Linked DNA regions of Homo sapiens: regions 2 and 3 are each linked to region 1. Evidence: promoter capture Hi-C in 16 types of primary human blood cells and fetal thymus (Javierre and others, 2016). All regions are on one chromosome and are shown on one strand. The core of a region is centred on a gene start or on the middle of the fragment in contact, and the rest is flanking DNA. Distances in the headings are between cores, read along the strand shown. Region 1 holds the start of RNF125 (ring finger protein 125). Region 2 overlaps TRAPPC8 (trafficking protein particle complex subunit 8). Region 3 overlaps RNF138 (ring finger protein 138).

Region 1 (2,700 bases), core at 136-2,635:
TTGGCCAGGCTGGTCTCAAACTCCTGACCTCAGGTGATCTGTCCTTCTTGCCTCCCAAAGTGCTGGGATTACAGGCGTGAGCCACTGCCCCGGCTTGGTTTGTTTTTTGAGACATGGTCTCACTCTGTCGCACAGGACGGAGTGCAGTAGTGTGATCTTGGCTCCCGTGCTCAAGTGATCCTCCCACCTCAGCCTCCCAAAGTGCTGAAATTACAGGCGTGAGCCACGGTACCCGGCCTATATCTCCTAATTAAAAGTAAAGCCTGGGTGAAGTTTATGGCCTGCTAAATACGTACATGTATTATATGCGTTATTATATCCCATGTGTTATATTATATATTATTGTATATGTGTATTATATACTATGTACTATTCTTACAACTGTATGTGAATCTATAATTATCTCAAAGTTTTGTTTTTGTTTTTTAAAGTAAGTTCTGTGAGAACTGGGATTTTGTTTGCTTGTTGACGATTGTGTCTTCATCACTAGAACCGAGTCTGGCGTGCAGTGGGCACTAAATAAGTCTTCGTAAAAAGTGTAAATTAACGCCCGGCTAATTTTTGTATTATTAGCAGCGACGGGGTTTCACCATGTTGGCCAGGCTGGTCTCGAACTCCTGCCCTCAAGCAGGAGTTTCAAGCCCGCCTCGGCCTCCCAAAGTGTTGGAATTACAGGCGTGGGCCACCGCGCCTGGCTGATCATGTTTAAAGGGCGGGGTGGGGAGCGTACAAACAACAGAGGAAATCCTGAGCCGCAGAGGAAACTGGAGATGGCAGGGTTTAGCACTAGAATCTCTGTAGGAGAGGTAAGATTGGAATCCTAATCTCCAGGACTCTTTCCACTACCCAGGCTATCTCTCCATTAATGGACTATTGATTGGATGACAGAGTAGCGATAGCACCGTCTTAGGAGACGCCCAATCATAGGTCATAGGTCATTTTTGCAGCTTATTGTGATGACAACAGTGGAGGATGGTCTTCCACTTCACCTTAAAAGCGGCTGTTCTCTGATTATCATTAAGCATGGCCACGCCCGCACTTAACTTCTGACAGTGGGGAAAGCAGCTGTGTGTGATAGCTTGGAAGGTTTACTGCTGCCTCAAGTCCTCTTCTCTGCAGTTGAGGTTTCAGGTTTCAATCCTCCCAATACCACAAGACAGAGCACGGGGCGGCTGCCGCCTCCGCCTCCGCGCCTTAACCTAGGCGGCTTGCCGAAGATCTCAGCCCCGCGGCCGCGCGCTCGCCCTGCCCTAGACCAGGGTTGGGCGCAGCGGCGGAGGTGGCTTCTGGGCTGCGCGAGCTGGGAGAGCTGGGAGGCGGCGATCGCAGCTGGGCCGGGACTTCCTTCCTCCACCGCACGGCAACAAAACAACCCTGCGGCAGGCACTGAGTGCTTCGCAGCTGTCTGGGCGAGAGGCACAGCGATGGGCTCCGTGCTGAGCACCGACAGCGGCAAATCGGCGCCCGCCTCTGCCACCGCGCGGGCCCTGGAGCGCAGGAGGGACCCGGAGTTGCCCGTCACGTCCTTCGACTGCGCCGTGTGCCTTGAGGTGTTACACCAGCCTGTCCGGACCCGCTGTGGCCACGTGTAAGTTCCAGGGGAGCTCGGTTTGCGCCCACCCCTAAGGAGGGCGATGTGGGGAAGCTGAGGGCATGGTGTGGGGAAGGAGGGGGACGGAAGACAGCCTCTTAGGAAATTGCTGCAGGGAGAAACCTGGACCCGTCGGATGCAGGACCACGGGGAAAACGCGGGTCGGAAGGTGACACAGGATTTCGGGAGGAGAAAAAATAAACAAGCGGGTCCTGTAGCCCCCTTGCGCTTTCAGCTCCCGAAGCCCAGGTGCGGAACTCCAGAGAAGGGGATCCAGGCACGGGTCCCGCCCAGAGCCAGGGCTCGCCAACTGGGGAGGGTGCTCTTGGCTGGAGAACCAGCGCTCGCCCAGGCACGGAAAGGAAACGAGCTCCAGCTACAAGGCAGGGGCTCCCGCAAAGCGCAGTTACCCCGCTGAACACGGTAGAACGGGCTGCGCTTCCCTCTGCCCCAGAAACCCGGGTCCGTTTTGTTTTGCTGGAGCTGTGCACGTGTTCCCAGAATGCCCACAGAGGCTCGTCTTAAGCAAACAAGGATCTGTGCAAAGTGTCTTTCCACCCCCACCCCTGCTACCCTTTCCCAACACAGACACCCAGCCCCTCAAAGGGCAAGTCAAACTGGAGCTTCCGAGTGACTTTCCACAGTTGTTAGAGTTTAACAACCTGCTAGGGTGGGGCTTGGACGTTAGCCGCCAAGCCCCTGAATGTACTCCTTCAAAACCCAGCCACAACGTAACAGGAGGTGGCAGGCTACCTGCTTTACGCACGGTCTCTCCAAACCGGCGGAAATTACAGAGTAAAATAACTTTCTCAAAACCGCATAGTACTTAGCTAAAACTCACAGTTGGTGCAAAGCCGTGGTCGTTTCTAAGAAGAATTTAAAAACAAAGTCCCTATATAAAATTGGCACATCCTTAATGTGTGTTTGAATAACTGGTGGAGTTGGAGCTGTGAATTTGTGCTCTCTGTTTACTGTGTGTGTGTGTGTGTGTGTGTGTGTGTGTTTGAGAGAGAGAGAGAGAGACGTAGTCTGGCTCTGTCGCCCAGGCTGGAGTGCGGTGGTGCTATCTCGGCTCACTGCAACCTCCGCCCACTGCAACCTCCGCCTCC
Region 2 (2,742 bases), core at 37-2,536, 110 kb before region 1:
GATTTAAAGAAAACTGTCCAATATGCTGGCAAAATCCTATTGAAAATGAATAAGCCTCTTCTAGAGTTGAACAGAATTTCATCATTGATAGTAATTTTGGGAAGTCTTAATATTGGCCTATCTTAAAACGAAAATAAAACAAAACTTCAAATACGTTTAATAATTCTTAAATTTACTATTTACTTAAATTTTTAAAATACTAATCCAAAAAATCAAACCTTACCTGATCGTTTAATTGCCTAATTGTTTTCTCTATATGTGGCAAAAGGCCCCGAAATGTGAACTCTTGTATAAACTGTCGAATTCTATCATGATCAGTAAGTGTTAAACATGCACCATGAATTATTCCAGTATTTCCTTTCTTTGTTTCATGTAACGATGAAGCAGATCTTAGATGATCTGGGCCATCAATACTGTTAGAAGGGTCACTGGATTGCTCCAACTGAAGTGGGTGAGCTCTAAAGTTATTTGGTAAGCCATCTACTGAAAAAGAGATTATTTCTTTTACTCTCAGAATGCAACAGAAAACAGTGCTAATACTACCATACTGCTAAAGAAAAAAAAAAAGCAGAATGTTAAAATCCTTTATCTTTCAGTATAGGTAAATGTCTAAGATAAAACAGCAGTAACATCCCCCAGCCCCAAAATTAATGAGCTTGAGTTAATATTTGTTTTGGTACCTGTATTAGTAATTTGAAAATCGGTATAAACCAGGAAATGGAGAAAAATACTTTATTTTAAATAATATAAAGAATGACTTTTAAATAGTACAACTAAGCCGTAAGAAAAAATATAACAAAAAAAATTTGTTATCATTACAAAAATCATAAAGTCAGAAATAAAGCTCTCAAAATCATGTAAATTTTTAAATAATTAATGCTGTGCATCACATCTTCCCTTGCTTTCTACAAAATATTTTAAAAGAAATCTATACACTACTCATATAAAACAAATTTTTAAGTGTCAAAAACAAACTCAAGTAGCTCAGTAAAATCTTCAGAAGAAAAACTAACCTGCCCAATATCTTTCTGTATTATGAAAAATTTCCCCCATCTTTTATCTATAAAGGTTAGCATGATCTGACAACAGTGCATATTTTCAATCAAAAGAGAAACTTAGAGAAAATATATCAAGACCTTTGACTTCGTTATCTAATCCATCCAATGAAAGCAAGTTATTATCAGAATTCTTATTTGAAGTTATAGTACAAGGGCCATCTTCATATGATTCCTATCAAAATAAAATTTAAAAAGCATTAGCAGTTATACTTAATCATACTTAATATACTATCAAATCCATCAACAACTATGGTTACTCTGCTAACTGTTGGCCTCATTTATTTGCTACAGTGAGCATTTTCTCGTCCTCCAAATTCATAACTTCTTCCATGGATCTTATTCTATCACTCCAACTCACACCTACTATATTCTTAAATCCCCTTTCACACTCAAGCTACTATCCTAATTCTTCTTAATTCAAATTATCTCTCAGGATATCTACTTATATATGATATGTATATACACGAGTGTTCATATAAGCACATACATATGCTTATGCCTCTTAAGTAAGGAATAATGGCAAGAGAGATGGACTACTAGAGTCAGACGGGGAAAGAAGAGAGGCACAGATATGAAATTCTTTGGGTCACAGTGTAAGCAGGTTGGAGTGAATTCTGAATATACTGAAGTGTTTTAGAAAAATATCTAACGCAACGTTTATTTGTGCAAAGGAACTGGTTTCTCAGTTAACAAAAAAACACTTAAACTAAAAATACCCAGACTACTCTACAAGACCAGTAAATATGATGTATTATTCTGAGTGTCACACTTTGAGGGAATTTACATAAACTAGAACTCAAGAAGAAAGTGACCAGGACAAGAAAGTCTGAAGCCACTCCTTGAGAAAGAGTTGCAGAAACTAGGCATATTTAGACTGGAAAAATATAAAAGAGGACATGAGAATTATCCTTCTATATTTTGAAAGTTGTCTTAATGGAAAACTAACATAGTCACTCCCAAAGGATCAAGCGTACAAGCAAAGGTCAAGAATTTTTTATTGATCCTTAAGCAAAATGAGAGAATTTTTGGGTGATCAGACATGCAATAGGTCACTTAATAAGAATACAGTGAGTACTGTCAACAGACGCAGTCATTCGTAAGTTTAAAGAAATTAAAGCATTAGATCAAGCATTGGATGTAAAACCTCTAAACTATTCTCCAACTTTGAGCTTCTAGGATGCTAAGGCATAGATTTCTGATATTTCTGCTTTCTGCTAAAAGTTCTCATACTGCACAATCTTCTTCATGTTCCCCTTCACAACCTTAGGTGACTGAACTCTAAAGTGTATTTTTTTCAGTACTGTTCTTATTCTTAGAATGGCCCCTAAAAGACCATTTTTAAAAATAAAGTTCCTTCACATCCAACTGGTACTTCTTTGCTTTTCCCCAGCATTATCTTAAAGAACGTCAGTAATCACCTCAATACTAAAGTCAGTAAAATACCATGATAGCACTACATTTAGATTTAAAGATTCCATTTATGAGACAGAAAAATAAAGCAAATAAACAGATTAAACAATACTTATATCAGAAGATCAAAAATTACATAAGCTTTGTAATTGATTTTTTAAATGTCACACACAGAGTGCATAATATAGTTTAATTGAACAATATAAATATATTTTCCATTTACTTAAGAATTTCTAGGCCAGGCGCTGTGGCTTACGCCTGTAATATCAACACT
Region 3 (2,700 bases), core at 169-2,668, 110 kb after region 1:
TAGCTTTAAAGGTGTAAAAAAGATGTTTCACTAATGTAACGGTGAAAGAGAATCCCTGTTGTACTTTATCTTTTTGTAATATTATTTTTGAATTTTTCATTATTATGTTGCTTTTGAAATTTGATGCATTCCTCCCATTTACTTTATTATTGTACACATTTAACACACAGTAGCAAATTTTGAACGATGTGATTGATATAACCTAACAAATCTGAGCCAGTTATTATTAGAGTTGCAGAATAGAAACTTGAAGTGCTAAATGGAATAATCCAAAGGAAATTTTTTAAATGCAGGTTCTAGCTGAAAAATTCAACTATAAGAAAATTGTATTTATATAACATTTACTATTTTTGAAGACTAGTGAGATTTCTGTAATAATTTTAATTCTTTAAAAAGTGAAAGCTTGTTGTAAAGATATTTTCTTTTTGTTATTAGAAGGAAATACAAAGAGAAAAATTTCTTTCTTTCATGGGCATTTGATAATTTCAGTCTTTGACTGATTTGTAAGCCTAGAATATACTAAGCTGAATAACAGCTCTTTGGCCTCAGAATTTTCAGTAGCCAGTATTTCTGATTAACTAAGTTGAAACTCTTATTAGAAACTTTCAGTTGGTGATATTGTATTCTAGAAGATATAAATGAGAGGTTTGGCTTCATCTCAGTTTAGAAATTTATTCAAAGCTAAAGATGTATATATACATATACTTTTGTGTGTATATATACACATATGTGTGTATGCAGTTTGTCAGGTTATATATAGAATTTCTATTAAGGATTTTTTAAATGGACAAGCAATAGGGGGTTGAAGTGTTTATCTGATTTGTTTAAAATTTTGTATATCACCAAATTTTTAAAAAGTGATAGTCACAGTGCTAAGTTATCTAGTTGGCTACTATTACACCTTAAAAATTGAGTTTACACACACACAATTACCTGTTTATATGGTGCTCATTTGTTATTCTCAAATATAATGTGTGACCGTGATATAGTGAGAAAGATTCTACCAACCACTGTTTCACTACTTTTTAGTTAAAATTGGGTATGTTCTTAATATTCATTAGTGAGAATCACAAAGTATTTTGTAGAAGGCCCAAATCACAGAATAAAGGACTAAGAGTGGATTTGCTGACATTCCATACTAATATACATTGTTTATGCTTTCTTTAAAATAACTAGAAGAACATAAAAGAAAGAGAATCTCAGAAGTAGTTTGCTGCTAATATATACATATATTGTATAAAAAGGTATATTTTGGTTTTGTTAAAACCCTTGTTGACTTTTCTACACTGAACATTTTTTTTAACTTGATTTAATAAAAATGTTAATTTTGGAAGTGCAGTTTTGTAAAAACCTTTTTCAGTCAAACAGTAAAGACTTTATTTATGGATTGTAATAACAACCACAAGAAAAGCCATACATCTTAATGAACATACGCCTTTGTTCTGTCATTTTAAAGAGTGGTGTTTACTATGTGTGTGCTTGAGCATTTTCTTTCAGTTACATGGGTGTAATTTAAAAAACAGCTCCTTTTTAAGACTTTTGACCATAGTGTTTTCCAGTTTAAAGCAATAACTTTCATAGTTTCTTTCAAAGTTTAATACATCCAATATGTCAAGTTAAACCATTCTGGGATTTGCAAAGTTTAATACATCCAATATGTCAAGTTAAACCATTCTGGGATTTGCAAAGTTTAATACATCCAATATGTCAAGTTAAACCATTCTGGGATTTGGGAACTTCTTTAAAGGAAAATTGTAGTAGAGGTCATCTTGATGGAATTGTGTTTTAAAGTTTTGTGAATGAGTTAAATATCATTGATAGTCTTGTGTGTCTCACATATCAGCTTTTTCATAAGGAAAATACTTTATTTGCTTTTATCTGAGAATTTCTCAGTATGAAAATGATTGTTTAAAATTTCCCCTCTTTTTGTCAGTGCATTGGGAATAGGGATAGACTTTACAGATTTATGGAAATTAAATTTATGGGGAAAAGTTTATTTTTAATATTACTTATAGCTGAGTCAGAATTAAAGGAGGGAATTGTATTGATACTCCAATACCTAAATTTCACAATACCACTTAGGAAAGCTATTTCAACAAATTACAGTTTTATTGTTAAAACAGAGTCTTATTTGAGATGTATTGCTTTATTTTTCAATTAAAAGTGGTTTTCTCCTACTTGTGTGTCTAATTAAAATTTGTCTGGAGGCAAACATTTAACTCTCATAATTCACACTGAAAGACGTAGGAGATAACCCATTATTTTGCACTTAAAAAAGTGGATAAGAAAAAGCTACCACATGCTGGTGCTATATGTCAGATTTAACTTTATAAACCTATTTATTTTTATCCATTTCAAATGTTAATCACCTTATAAAGCAATTTTATGAAGTGTCTGCGGAGCAAGATTTTCAAGCCCTGTTAGCAGCTAGGCAGAAAGCTTATTTGCTTAATAAACACTTTTATATGGAGATAGATAGTACTTTTAAGTAAGATACCAGGGTTATAAGACTATGTTGCCAAATACAATGTCATATACCTTGTATGGGTTGCTTGGTAAGTATTAATTATGATCTTCAATACATCATAACTTCTACAGAAACCCCTTAACAGCTGCTACTCAAACCCCTTGTAGAAGCGTGACTTTTTAGCATACTATGTAGAAAAGGTGTGACCCAGAAAACATGTAAATACAGATACT

Evidence for each region. The method cuts DNA at HindIII sites, captures the fragments that hold promoters and counts their contacts. A CHiCAGO score of 5 or more calls a contact.
Region 2: a contact is called between a fragment that was not itself captured here and the fragment with the promoter of RNF125 in region 1, in 1 of 17 cell types (naive CD8 T cells). The highest score is 5.4, in naive CD8 T cells.
Region 3: a fragment that was not itself captured here is called in contact with the fragment with the promoter of RNF125 in region 1 in 1 of 17 cell types (total CD8 T cells); the score reaches 6.8 in total CD8 T cells.

Annotation. Positions count from the first base shown.
Region 1 is chr18:32,017,440-32,020,139 of GRCh38, forward strand. RNF125 (ring finger protein 125) reads left to right here and starts at 1,386. Exons shown (of 6, transcript NM_017831.4): 1 at 1,386-1,588. The coding sequence starts at 1,425. RefSeq lists enhancers at 708-1,580, 987-1,281, 1,581-2,453, 2,098-2,147 and a silencer at 987-1,281. The HindIII fragment of the contact is 17,285 bases long and covers 1-2,700 here.
Region 2 is chr18:31,908,531-31,911,272 of GRCh38, forward strand. It overlaps TRAPPC8 (trafficking protein particle complex subunit 8), which reads right to left. Exons shown (of 29, transcript NM_014939.5): 6 at 1,137-1,230; 7 at 224-480. Among named protein-coding and RNA genes, the nearest start is that of TRAPPC8, 33 kb to the right of the region's middle. The HindIII fragment of the contact is 2,641 bases long and covers 1-2,607 here.
Region 3 is chr18:32,129,385-32,132,084 of GRCh38, forward strand. RNF138 (ring finger protein 138) reads left to right here. Exons shown (of 8, transcript NM_016271.5): 8 at 1-2,177. Among named protein-coding and RNA genes, the nearest start is that of RNF138, 39 kb to the left of the region's middle. RefSeq lists a silencer at 2,668-2,700. The HindIII fragment of the contact is 2,037 bases long and covers 401-2,437 here.